Regions from separate parts of the Homo sapiens genome. Here all the other regions are linked to region 2. Evidence: promoter capture Hi-C in 16 types of primary human blood cells and fetal thymus (Javierre and others, 2016). All regions are on one chromosome and are shown on one strand. The core of a region is centred on a gene start or on the middle of the fragment in contact, and the rest is flanking DNA. Distances in the headings are between cores, read along the strand shown.

Region 1 (4,607 bases), core at 791-3,290, 390 kb before region 2:
CATATATTATACATATATATACATATATACATGTATAATATACATATATTATACATATATATACATATATACATGTATTATATATATTATACATATATATTTTGTATATATACATATATATTTTGTATATATGTGTATAAAATATATATGTGTAAATATATATACACACATATATTTTATATATGTATATATATACATATATATGTATATATTTTATATATATATAGTTATCTGAAATATGTCAGTTGCACTACCCTAAGCACTTTGTATGTAGTAATTTACTTAATGCTCACAAAAGCCCTGTGAGATAAGTATAATAATGTGGAGATCATAACAGATGGAAACTGAAATGCAAAGGGGTTGAGTATTATGATCACAGTTGTACCGCTTCAGAGTGGCAGGACTGAATAGAAAGAAGTCAGGCAGACTGATTATGGAGCATGCTATTAACCACTGTGTGACACTGCCTCTATAAATTGGAACATCGACTGGCAGTGTTGATAATGTTGTGTTATGTCTGCCAAGATGCTGTTGGCTGTGGGGCAGCAGCAGTGACAAAAGCATTTTTTAGAAATAGGTCATTGGAGAGTGAGAACTGAAGAGTAGCCTCTTTTTTTCTTTTGGAAGCTGTGGTACTTTAGAATAAAGAGACACTGACATACTTAAGTTCAACAAAGTTGTAATGTTCTGCTGGCCTGGTGTTGAGAAGAAAATGGAGGCTGAGAGCTTCCCTATAAAGAGGTTGTCGATTTATGGCTGAATTTTAGATTCATGGACAGACCTAGAGATTAAATGAAAAAGGCAGAACCTGGATAATTTTCCATTCTAGTTATTTCTTGAGGTGAACCTGTCAAGCATGCAGAAACAAATATATCAATTATATGGAAGGCTATTTTTGGATATCTGGATATAAAACAAGCTAACATCTTACCAAAGCACAATTCCATCACCAACAGCTTTGAACAGGTCATCGGTGTTAGGGTTCATTGGTATAACATGTCTACAATCAGGATCATTTTCCAAAGCTTTGTTTATCCAGTTAACAAAAGCATATTTTTCTTCCTCTAAAATTATGTTAAATAACAAGACATTAGTTCATACTCTAACTTATTAAATATTTGACTCCAAAGCCTAAAATAGTTGTGCAGTAGTGCTGAAAGTTAATGTGTCAGAAACATGTGGTTATTCTGTGTGGAAACCCAGACACTTGGATGCAACACAGTGGTTATTAGGAATTACAAAATTAAGAAAAAGAATAGAACACGTTAACCAGTCCTCAGAAAAGTTACAAAATTCCTTAAAAATTATATTTATATTACTGTATAATGCACTGTAATAAAGCCTGTCATTACATGGATTGTATCCTGTCTCTTGCAAGCTAACAAAGCCATACAATAAACACTTATAATGCCTTTATGACAAGTATTAGTCTCAAGCCTAAATACATGTCACAAAGGACTTCTACTGTATTCTTAATTAGAAGGTAATGTTTTTCTAGAGCCCGTCCTTGACATTACAGCAACCATCCCACTTAGCACATTGTGTTAACCTATTGCATATAAAATGATTACCTGAGTAAGAATGCTGTGTTCCTTCGCTGGACAACTCTGAAGTTCCACCCAGAGCACAAATACCTTCTTTCCTGTTGATTGCTTTGCGGAAGGTCTTGGCAATATCACTACTTTTTACCTCTTGAAAAATCTATTAATTAAAGTAATTTTGTTGATTCACAATTAATTTCAAACTATGCACAATAAGCATATTTATATTCTTTTATATCTTGATCACTTACATTTTTTCCATAGCTGATGTTAAAAGATACAAAAAACTGGGCTTGAGTTTTTGAAATGCTAAACAAGTACTACAATACCCCTTCTGAAAATGAAGCACCAGAATGTCAATTGCACACACTTGTCAAAAACATTAAGCGCTACATGCATTGAACTCACTTTAAGCCAAAAACTAATGTGGTTCAAAGGCACAGGTAAATCTGTTAATTTTCTACAAACAAGGAAGGCTTTATTCTTTTCCTGGAGAGAAAACATTGAAGAATCCCCCTACTTTAATAAAAATTCTTAATGCAAAGAAAGATAAAATTTTATGATTTAACCAAAAAACTATTTTACAGTATAATGGGGTAGCTCATTAAGAATTCATTAAATCAAAAGTTACAGAATAATGCAGTTAAAAAATGTGTTAAGCTGGTAGTAATAGATGACTATCAAGAATAAACACCAAAAAGAGGCTTTTCAGTGATTGTCTTATTGGGGCATTTATGAAGTCCAGCTTCTCTTCACAGTAAGGAACATTCTAATTGTACAAAAGCAAGTTATAACACAGTAAGTTTCACATCCTAGTACTGTGTAGCTATCTGATTGGACATTCTATCTGTCTATATTTTTCTGAGGTATTGGAATGTACCTAATTCCAAATGTGTTCCTGATCCACCAATGTGCGTGGCTAAATTAGTCAAAGCCAGTAAAACAGGAGCAAGATGTAGAAACCGTATACAACTTTCTTTAAATGGCGTTTAGAATTCCATTTAAGTGGATTCATTGAAAGAAAACTTAAGACTTAATGGAAAAGTTGCTGAACAAATGCAATTCAAAGACCTTTAACATTCGTGACAGATATGTATTCACACACACATCTCAGGAAGATGCAGCCTATGTCTGCGGTTCATAGAACAGGGTTACAATATACATAACAGTTCAGGTTGTATGTGTCAGAGCAGGCACGAGCAGAAGCAGAAATCCAGCCCAAGCTATACTAACCAAGCCTTGTGTCTCGCACAGGACTGTGTCAGACCGAAAGGAGTGCCTTGTTGTATTTTGTCTTTCCAGGAGGGTACCTTTTTGTAATTAATCCATCTAGAGAAAGTGACTTTTAGTAACTGGTAGAAAAGTTGCTGTATGTGTTGTCAGTGGCCCTATTACTTAGTCATTTTTTCCTGTTACCTTTCTTAAATTAAATCCTAACTTTCTTTGGACTTACAAATAAAATTTTGTTTGAGAGAATAGTTAGTAAGCACTTAAATTTTACAAAATCAAGCTTACTCAGTATTTCCATACCTGTGATTCTGTGCTAGCTTTACCAGTAATTTTGGAGGTGGAATTTTAGAATAAATGTCTGTGTGTGTCTATGTTTGTATATGTATGCAGACACACACATACACACTACTCTAAATACTAAACACAACCAATGAAATCACCCTTCCTGCTCTATGGCCATTATACTGACTTTCACTAAGTATCAACAGTATGGAGCTTACGCACACACTTCAGGCAGTTTTCAAATGATTAAAATATTTTTATTTACAATCTGATTTTTTAGTCCAACTGTGCCTTAACTGTGATGCATTTTGATCCTATAGCTCTCCTTTTGATAACAACGCAGCTGCTCTGTGAAAAGACAATAGTCACTAGTCTACTTCTTTCTGAACTCTACTTCATTGTCTAATAAGTTAAAATCTGAAAGGTGTGCATTTCTTCATGCCTAACATACCACAAGTCCCTGCAATGACAAAAGTGTTACAGCTTCAGAATGAGATATGTAAAGTTATTTTTCTTATTACGAGTGCTTCTGCTTCAAGAATCATTTACTTCTAAAACTTAGGTTGTTTCAATGATCATGATTTCAGCTAAAAAATAAATCCAAATTTGTTTATGTCACAGAAAAAAGGATTAATTCATATTTAAAAAAGAGAACGTCTGGGAATTCGAACTAATAACTAGAACTAGAAAAGTAGGCTGGGCACGGTGGCTCACATCTGTAATCCCAGCACTTTGGGAGGCCAAAGTGGGTGGATCACTTGAGGTCAGGAGGAGTTCAAGACCAGCCTGGCCAACTTGATGAAACCCAGTCTCTACTAAAAATACAAAAATTAGGTGGGCGTGGTGGTGCATGCCTGTAACCCCAGCTACTTGGGAGGCTGAGGCATGAGAATCACTTGAACCCGGGAGATGGAGGTTGCAGTGAGCCAAGATGGGCCACTGCACTTCAGCCTGGGCAACAGAGCAAGATCCTGTCTCAGAAAAAAAAAAAGGAAAATAAATTAAACATATATATACATATATATAGAATGTCTCTGCTATATATCCTAATGCAATTATTTACATAGCTTTAGTAAAACTCCTTCTTATGCTTGGCAATGAAATGCAAAGTTGTAATTAAGTTTGTTAATTTTCAAAGGTCTTGCAAAAGTTACATGACCTTCATTTTCTAAATTGTTTCAAATAAATTATTCCAGCTAAGCTTAAACTTTTAGTTTCATAGTATTTTCCTCTATTCCCTTGGTTTTAAAAAAGTAAAAATGGGCCAGGTATGGTGGCTCACACCTGTAATCCCAGCACTTTGGGAGGCCAAGGTGGGCGGATGGTTTGAGGTCGGGAGTTCGAGACCAGCCTGACCAACATGGAGAAACTCTGTCTCTACTAAAAACACAAAATTAGCCGGTCGTGGTGGCGCATGCCTGTAATCCCAGCTACTCTGGAGACTGAGGCAGGAGAATCCCTTGAACCCAGGAGGCAGAGGTTGCAGTGAGCCGAGATCACGCCACTGCACTCTAGCCTAGGCAACAAGAGTGAAACTCCGTCTCAAAAAAAAAA
Region 2 (4,106 bases), core at 1,120-3,619:
TGAATCAAAAAATTCATGCAATATGTCAGATAATGTCTTTACCCACAGTTATCAGGACATTTACTAATTTTTTCCTTGGCGTCCTACATTTTGAATGTTCTTTATTATTTTAGTTTTTGAAGGAGTAGAGGTGTAGTAAAGAGATTAACACTTATTGAGTGCCCAATGCTATAGTATTACTGGCATGGAGAGTTTCTGGCACAGAGTAATTGCTCCTTAAATGCTTATTAAATGAATAAATGAATGTCAGGTATGTGCCTGCCACTTTACATGTATGACTTTATTTATTCCTACAACAATCATATAGTAGGTATGTACTATTTTCCCTCATCTATAAAATGGAAGAATAATAGTACCTACTTTACAAGGTTGTTATGAGGATCGATAGACAAGTAAGTATATACAAAGCACTCCCTGGCAAGTAGCAAGCACTTTAAAAATATTATTATTATTATTATTTTCCATTGTTACATATGAAGACACTGAAGTACTGAGCTTTTAAGCCACTTTCCCAAGTATTACACAGGGAGTTAAAAGTTCAGAATAAATTTCTAAACTTTATGCCCTCTCTTCTAAATCTTTTGGCCTTGGTGTTCTTGTCAAAGAGCTCTACAACATGTTATTTTGTCTGATTTTAAGGTATACATAGCTTACTTAATAAGCGTCCCATTTTCTTAGATTATCTTTCAACTTTTTGAAAAATTATTTTCCTTCTTAAATTTGGCTGTACATGCCTTTTTTCACTGGACAGGTATCCTGATAGGACATATTTTTCCTGGAGTCCAATACATTGTTTTAAATAATTGCAAAAATTCTCATTGGCTAATTATTAAAATATTTTCTTTCCTAATCTTTTCTCTAATGAACTTAGTGTCCTTTCTCATTCATCTTAATTCTGAAGTTCTCAATTAATTATGAATTATGAATTAATAATTTGATTTAAGATATAAGGAAGATGAGATATAAGGTGCAACATGCCTTTTTGACACCGGTGTGTTTTAATAATTTATCTCACTTGCTAATTCACTATACAGAGTCTGATTCTCTGTTTTCTTCCTTCTGGGTCATGCATATGGTGAATGTAATTTCTCATGACATAATCATTTTAGTTAACCAGTATAGCCACAAATCAATTTAGACAAGTTGTAATTCTTTCCTGTAATCTTTTATAAAGTAGAGCCTATGGCAGATATACTTTTTTGAAGTGGAGATTTCTCTTAAAAAATGAGGCTGTTGACACATTGCTCAAATTGAAATAGGTGTAAAAGAGATACATAGGATACTCAATGATAAGTGAATATGTCCAAGCATTCTGATAGTTTTCTTCATCAACTTTACTGAATACTAGAGAAAAAGATTTGAATGACTATGATTGAGAGTGGAGAGGGTAGTGGGTAAAGGGATGGCAGTGGCCTAAATGGTTGGGTGATAAACTCGGCTAGATAGTCTGGGGTTAAATTATGGAGGCCTGGAATGCCAGATAAAGGACTTTGAACTTTCTTCTCTATGTCTTCTACATTAAAAATATCTTCAGGTTCTGAGAATGAACTCCTAAAATTCAAGATCGATTGGCTTCATAATACCCAGGGTTAAATCTTCAGAATTCCATCTAAAAACAAAACCTGTATTTCAGAAATAACTTAAGATTGTTTGATGATCAAAGAGATTTTCATCAGGCAGTACTGACACGATGAGAAGAAACTAGAGGTATTTTGGAGATCTTGGCACAACTTCAAAGAGTGATAGAACAGAATGTGGATAACTCTTCCAAGTTTTGGAAGGCAACAGTCTGGCTGAGACTTACATACATTGAAACGAGAGGCTTCCTTGAAAACATTTTACAAATCTTTTCCTATTATAGAATTCTAAACTATGGAGAAATTCATATATGCCCCAAACTCAACACTGCACTCATTTCCCTCCCCAAGTGACTCCCCAGCGTTTCTCTAACACTGGTAAAGGATTCCTGAGGCATTTGCAGTAAGCTTCTCAATAAGCTGCCCCATAGCCCTTCTAAGTGCTGTTTCTGTATATTCTGAAACGAATCCCTTTCATCCCTAGCTCATATATTTGTTTCTGTTTTGCAGAACGGAAACAGTGAAGCAACTTAGAGAGTTGGGGACATACAGCCCAGATGACCTATAGTTCGCCTGGTGTCGTTTCGCAAGACTTTGGTACCCAAAGCAGCAGAACCGGGATTTAGCATCCTTCTTATCATACATTTCTTAAAGCAAGCGTTCTGCACTTTCAAACATCATCTTTTCTCTATCCAACACCTCCTCCCAGCCCGCCCCCTGGTTCCTTCCCACTCTCTACCTCGCCCCCCACCCCCCGCCCCCAGTCTGCGCATGCGTCCTAAGAACCCCTTACACTCGCGGCACAGGCTGACAGTATTGTCGGGGGCTATTCTCTCTCCCAGGAACATGGCGGCGAGTCAGGGAGGAGGCGGTAACAGTGGGGGCGGCGGTTGTGGTGGAGGTGGAAGTAGCGGTGGCTGTGGCACGGCTGGAGGGGGAGGTGGCGGGGCTGGAGGGGGAGGCGGCGGCGGCGGCGGGACCCTGGTGGTCCCCATCCCGGTACCGACTCTTTTCGGTCAGCCGTTCCCCAACGGGCCGCCGTGGAACCCGGGGAGCCTGCAGCCTCAGCACACCGTGAGGAGCCTGGACCGGGCCCTGGAAGAGGCGGGCAGCTCCGGCATCCTGAGCCTCAGTGGTCGGAAACTCCGAGACTTCCCGGGCAGCGGCTACGACCTGACGGACACCACCCAAGCAGGTGACAGGACGGGGGGAGGGGAAGCTGGCTGTGAAGGAGGAGGTGCGGGGAGTGGGTGGCTGCGTGGCTGCGTTGTTGGACTCTGCGGGTCTGGGCGGGTGCGCGGGGACCGCCAGACTAACAAAGTCGGGGCAGCCCGTTCTCCTGAACGTGAGGGGCGAATCAAGCAATAGGGGAGGGGAGGAATGCTGCCTGAAGGATGTATAGAAACTGGTAGGATGTTAGGGGTGAAAGAGCATCATTGTTAAAGCAAGTTTCCCCAGTTTGGGTGGGAGGGAGTCATTGACACCTTCCTTAATGCACTTCTTTCAACTCTCCTGGATCTTCCCGTCTTTCCCGGAAAACCAAACCCAACCAAACTAAACGAAACACAAAAATCATAATCTCTACATATTCCTTAAAGGCATACGTGCCTGAAAGAATGGCATATCCTTTTTCAGAGTACAGCAGCAGGATTGCCATGGTTTTTCTGTGTGGTTTAATCATCCTACGATATTCTTGGCTTCTTTCTTGTCACGTATGCCTTTAAAGACTGAGATTTTTCATTTTCCTGGTGTTGAGAAGGTAGTGGTGGTTAAATTAGTATTTGCTGCAGTGGTAAATTAAATCATCAATCACTTACATGTCTGCTTACTAGAAGAAAGCTAATCCTTGTTTTGAGTTATCTTAGAGTCTTAATTTTTATAGTAGAAAGCCAACAATTTTAAGGGTATTTTTGAGAAAAAATTATCTCCATTCTTTATGGAGTTGTGGATTAAAGGTTTATCACTTTGGGTGAGAAATTGGCTATTGTAATGTTCTTCATATACTCTCTGGTAGTCTTTGTTGTGGCTGGCATTTTTTGTTAGGGACACACTCTCTTATAAACCAATGCTGGATTATTTTAGATATGTCTTGATTTGATGAAAGGTTTTTTTTTACTTTTTATAATCTTTAAATTTGTTATTTATTTCTGTTTTCATCTGCTTTGCTGAAATAAATCTGGACAAAATTATTTTAATAGATGTCGTCATTTTGAAACAATATAGTAAGTAAATTCACCCATAATGAGGAGTAGTAAAATACCACTTATTTTCAAAACAAGACAATTTCAGATGTATTCAGTTTTTAGATCTTAAATCAAGGTATTTGTGTTGGAACAAAGTGGGGAGAGGAGGAAAACCTAAAATTGAAGCTTTCCACCCAGTGATTCTTTTAGCAATGATCCTAAGAACTATGAATGTGTAATCGACCACTGATTTTATATTTTGTAAAGCATGTTGGAGTATTTACTCCTTCACTCAGAACAGATTTCCTAAATAATATGTTCACATATTCATGACTGTTAGCAAGAT
Region 3 (4,062 bases), core at 1,289-3,788, 330 kb before region 2:
AGCAAGAAACTGGAGTGCTCCGGTCATTCAGAGGCTGCTGCAGGAGACAAAGGGTTTTTGGCAAAAGAATACAAAGTCAGAATCTCTTAAATATCTTCTGCCCTAGTTGTTTTCAAGACTGAATATGCATCAACCAGGTCCGTTTTTTCTTTTTTTTTCAGATAAGCAAAGCTTTTAAACTCCTGACCTCAGAGGCTCCTCTGCCTCTCTTCTATACTCTGTAATATATAATCTGAATAGCCAAATTGCCACGTTTTCCCAGAAGCAACCTTAACTTGGGCCACTTGGGCGGGTATAGGTCAATATGGGAAAGTTGTTTCAGTGTCCTCTCATTATTCTACCAAACCACTGACAGGCAAAAACCCAACCAACTCGATGTATCAAATTTACTATCCACTGTTTTTGTGCATGATTTCTAATCCAGTTAATTGAAAACCACAAATAACTGGTGGTTAATTTTAGTCAAGAGGTTATTTACTACCTTTAAGTAGTTGCCTAAAATAGGGAACAGTTCAATTAGAATATAGGCCAGACCAAGGAAGATGAACAGAGCCTTACTTTTTAACACTATCTTGTGGGATTTAGCTTCAAATCTAGTATTCAGGGACAAAATGAGGCATGAGTAATAGGATGACTTCCCTAGAAAATAATTAGTAAGATGTTTTTTAAATTTAGAAAAACCATGAGATTGAAGAAGAGAGGAGATACATGTCCCAGCTCACATATATTTCAATCCCTTATTTTAAAAACAGCTCCTGTTTTTGTTTTGGATAAAAGCTGAGCACCAAATTCCCTTTCTGGTCCCCTCATCCAAAATCCTAGTAGACTTCCTTGATTAGAAGCTAGTTCACACTCCTCCCCACCTTTTTTTTTTTCAAACGTAGAGGTGGTTTTTGGAATATGGGCCTCAACCATTACATTCCAGCTTTAAAGTAAAAAGACGTCATGTGACCATCAGAGACTTGGGGCACGTGATTCCAACTGGTATGTGTGGGGCTCCAGCCACTTAGTTGGAATTCACCATGAACTGCATCTCGAGGATCAAGTTTAGGCTCCCCAGTCCATTGTGACATCCAGCAAAGTGGAGTAAGTGCTTGCCCCTCAATGGTTTTTACTTTTCCCTACATTTTCTACCTACTGTTAGCCAGGCTCCCTTCCCTCCTCCCAATCCCTCTTAACAGGCCGGGCGCCCCCAGCATCCCGTCTGTCTGACGCTAAATGGCGAGGCTCTCCAACCCACTTAGCTCCAAGCTCAACCTTCTGCAAAAGTTCAACCTTCTGCACCACTGGGGATATCGTGCAGCTCAGGTGAGAGGCAAGGAGCATCGCATAAGGCTAGAGTCAGATGCCATTAACCCCCACTCCACCTCCCGGGCTGGGATCATCTTACGTCCCGGAGCCCGGCGGTCGGAACCGCCAGCACACTGGAGCAGCGACGGCGGCAGCAACTTTGGGACTGGCGAGAAGCCAGGGCGGGGGTGGTCGGCGTCCCCGGGCCTCTCATTACAGCGCTTAAGTACTGCGGGTGGAGAAAAGTAAACACAGGCAAGTGCAGCTGTGCGGGGAAAGGGCGGGGGGGTAGACTATTACCTCCCTCCCGTCGCCCCTTTGCCTCTCCCTCTCCAAGAGTCGGGAGAGGTCCGGGACTGCCGCCGCCCCGACCGCGCGCCCGGGGCCGCAAAGTCAAAGGAGCTGAAAAAAGGACAGGGGGTGTGGGGCCAGGGGAGAACGGAAAGGTACTGTCCTACTAGCCCAGAGATGTTCTCCTACTGAAAGGAAAAAAAGTGCTTACTCATAGGGAGACTAGGTGCGTTCGCGACGCCCTCGCTAAGGACAAGGGAGGGAAGCAGGCAGAAGGCAGGCAACCCAAACCTCGTGCCTTCCCTCGGCCACGGCCCCCCCTCTCCAGAGCCCCAGGGTCGGCTTAAGCCAGCCAGGTCACCCGAGGCGGGCGTGTGGGGGCTGGAGGAGTAGCAGGCTGCTGGCTCCGGGATTTCCTGAGTCCGGGCGGGAGGGAAGAGGGGATGGCAGTAGCTGGAGAAGGACGACAGAGGGAAGTTGTGCGCTCCCTTTCCACTTCGGGGCCGCAGCCGCGGAGGGGAATCAGGGCAAGGGCTGGCGTCTAGGACTCCAGCCCAAGACTGGCAACAAGTTAAGAGCAACTAGTAAGAAAACACCACTTAATACAGTGAAGTGCAGAAAACGTGTCTGCGGCGGATGCTAGTAGGGAAACTCCCCGTCACTCACACCCATTTCGGTTGCGACCGATCGCCCGGGCGCCCGAGGGCTCCAACTGAAATTTCTCCGACCTCCCTCTCCCCCAACCCCCGCCCCACGGTGCGCCGCACGTTCCTGCTGAGCTTAACCGAGATGCTCTCCCCGGGACCCACTCCTGCCCACGCCCAGGAAACCCGCTCCCCTAGTGCCCGCCGGCGCCTACAAAGCACTTACGTAAAGTCGCAGAGTCCTGGGTCTGGCCCGACTGCCGCCGACCAACCCACTCAGACAACTTCTGCACCTCGGAATCTTTGCAGCTGTGGCTCTAAAGCCAGCGCTCCCTCCCCTCCTGCCAGCCCCCTCCGCCCCTCGGCCGCCGCCATTGGCTCGGGTGGTGCTAGCAGTCGGCCTGGGAACCAGGAAGGGGATTGGGCCACGAGCCTGTCACATCAACTGGGTGGGGATCCAGGAAAATAGGCACGGGGATGGGCACCCAGGAGGGATAGGGACTGCAACTCTGCTGCAGGGAGAGGAGAATGGTCCCCAGCGCCTGAGTCTCCCCTTCCTACTTGGGCTAAGAGGAAGTTAGAAGTCCAACGTGCCTGGCTCGGAGTACACATTCACACAATCTTGTGGGATTAATAAAAAGATGAAAAAGTTGGGAACAAGAATTTGAATGCCACCTATATAAGTCTATGGGGGAGGGGTACAGTTTCTCCCAGAATCGTGAGAAGAATAACGGCATGTTGGGGAACATTCCTAATTACATCTGCAACAATCAGTCCAGGTGCCAAAGGGTGCAGAGGGAAACATCAGCAATCATTCCTTTCCTTAAGAAGTCAAGGGAGAAGAATATGGGCAGGGCAGGGCCCTCAAGCCTTTGGCCTCATGCCAAGTAAATTGTTAGCCCACATCACCTGTCTGGTATGTTTGTCCATGCGGAGAGGGGTTGAGAGGAGGTGGTTGGAAGTACATTGGTTCCACTCTTTTGACCGGAAATGGGTATCAATTCTCATCAGTCTCCTTTCACCAGAGAAAATTTGGAGACATGTTACTACTCCCCAGACTGCCATTTCTTCTCCTTCTCTGCCCAGGAGATGGCTTCCACGTCATAGCTGACCTCTTTCATTAATACACGTGGAGGTTATCTGCATTCCAAACCTATGGTTCATCGTATATCCAAAATCAACTCAGAGAGCCAGAGTTTGAGGGATTTTGCAGGGTCAGGTCAAGAGACTGACTTGTGGGATAGCTGTAGAAGAAAAAGTCTAAGCCCTTTCCTGTTCCAGTCGTAACCATTTTGTTGAGGAAATGTGTGCTTGGAAAGTTCTGTCAACATTTAAAATTAGTTCAATTAAGTCGCATTTTACATGTACCAGGAAAAAATGCTGAGAGGCTTTAAAATGGAATGTTCTTGAAAAGGAACCCCTATTTCATCTGCCATTATGAATTTCCTTAGAGAAATTAATCCGTAGTGAGTGCCAAGGCTTCTTAAAAGGGAAGAACTTGGGGAGTTCATATATTGCCTAAAGGCTAGACTAGCAGAGGACTTGGCACGAGGAAAAAGCCTTGTTAAATATTAATTAATGATTAACCAACTGGAAGAACTTATGAAAGGCACAGGAAGGTGAAAAAGAAATGGGAGGGCAATCATGCTTTCACAAACATTGAATTTCTGTTATGGGAGATTTTCTACTGGTTCAGGTTTGGGCCAGCACAAAAATACTGATTTCAACATGTTGGCGTTGGATTGAACATGGAGCCAGTGCATTGCCACACACATTTACAGTAAGCTCCCAAATGAGATTTCTAGCATTCAGTAATTGGCCAAAGGTTTGGTGTGAC

Evidence for each region. Contacts are between HindIII fragments. The CHiCAGO score rates a contact against its expected background, and 5 or more counts as called.
Region 1: a fragment that was not itself captured here is called in contact with the fragment with the promoter of LRCH2 in region 2 in 3 of 17 cell types (fetal thymus, megakaryocytes and erythroblasts); the score reaches 5.7 in fetal thymus.
Region 3: the fragment with the promoter of PLS3 here is called in contact with the fragment with the promoter of LRCH2 in region 2 in 2 of 17 cell types (endothelial precursors and fetal thymus); the score reaches 7.1 in endothelial precursors.

Annotation. Positions count from the first base shown.
Region 1 is chrX:115,626,292-115,630,898 of GRCh38, reverse strand. PLS3 (plastin 3) reads right to left here. Exons shown (of 16, transcript NM_005032.7): 4 at 1,572-1,701; 5 at 932-1,064. Among named protein-coding and RNA genes, the nearest start is that of PLS3-AS1, 66 kb to the right of the region's middle. The HindIII fragment of the contact is 2,026 bases long and covers 1,028-3,053 here.
Region 2 is chrX:115,232,359-115,236,464 of GRCh38, reverse strand. It overlaps LRCH2 (leucine rich repeats and calponin homology domain containing 2), which reads left to right and starts at 2,369. Exons shown (of 21, transcript NM_020871.4): 1 at 2,369-2,772. The coding sequence starts at 2,424. The HindIII fragment of the contact is 1,961 bases long and covers 1,988-3,948 here.
Region 3 is chrX:115,559,650-115,563,711 of GRCh38, reverse strand. It overlaps PLS3 (plastin 3), which reads right to left and starts at 2,538. Exons shown (of 16, transcript NM_005032.7): 1 at 2,452-2,538. It overlaps PLS3-AS1 (PLS3 antisense RNA 1), which reads left to right and starts at 981. Exons shown (of 3, transcript NR_110384.1): 1 at 981-1,086; 2 at 1,182-1,308. RefSeq lists an enhancer at 989-1,764. The HindIII fragment of the contact is 4,189 bases long and covers 174-4,062 here.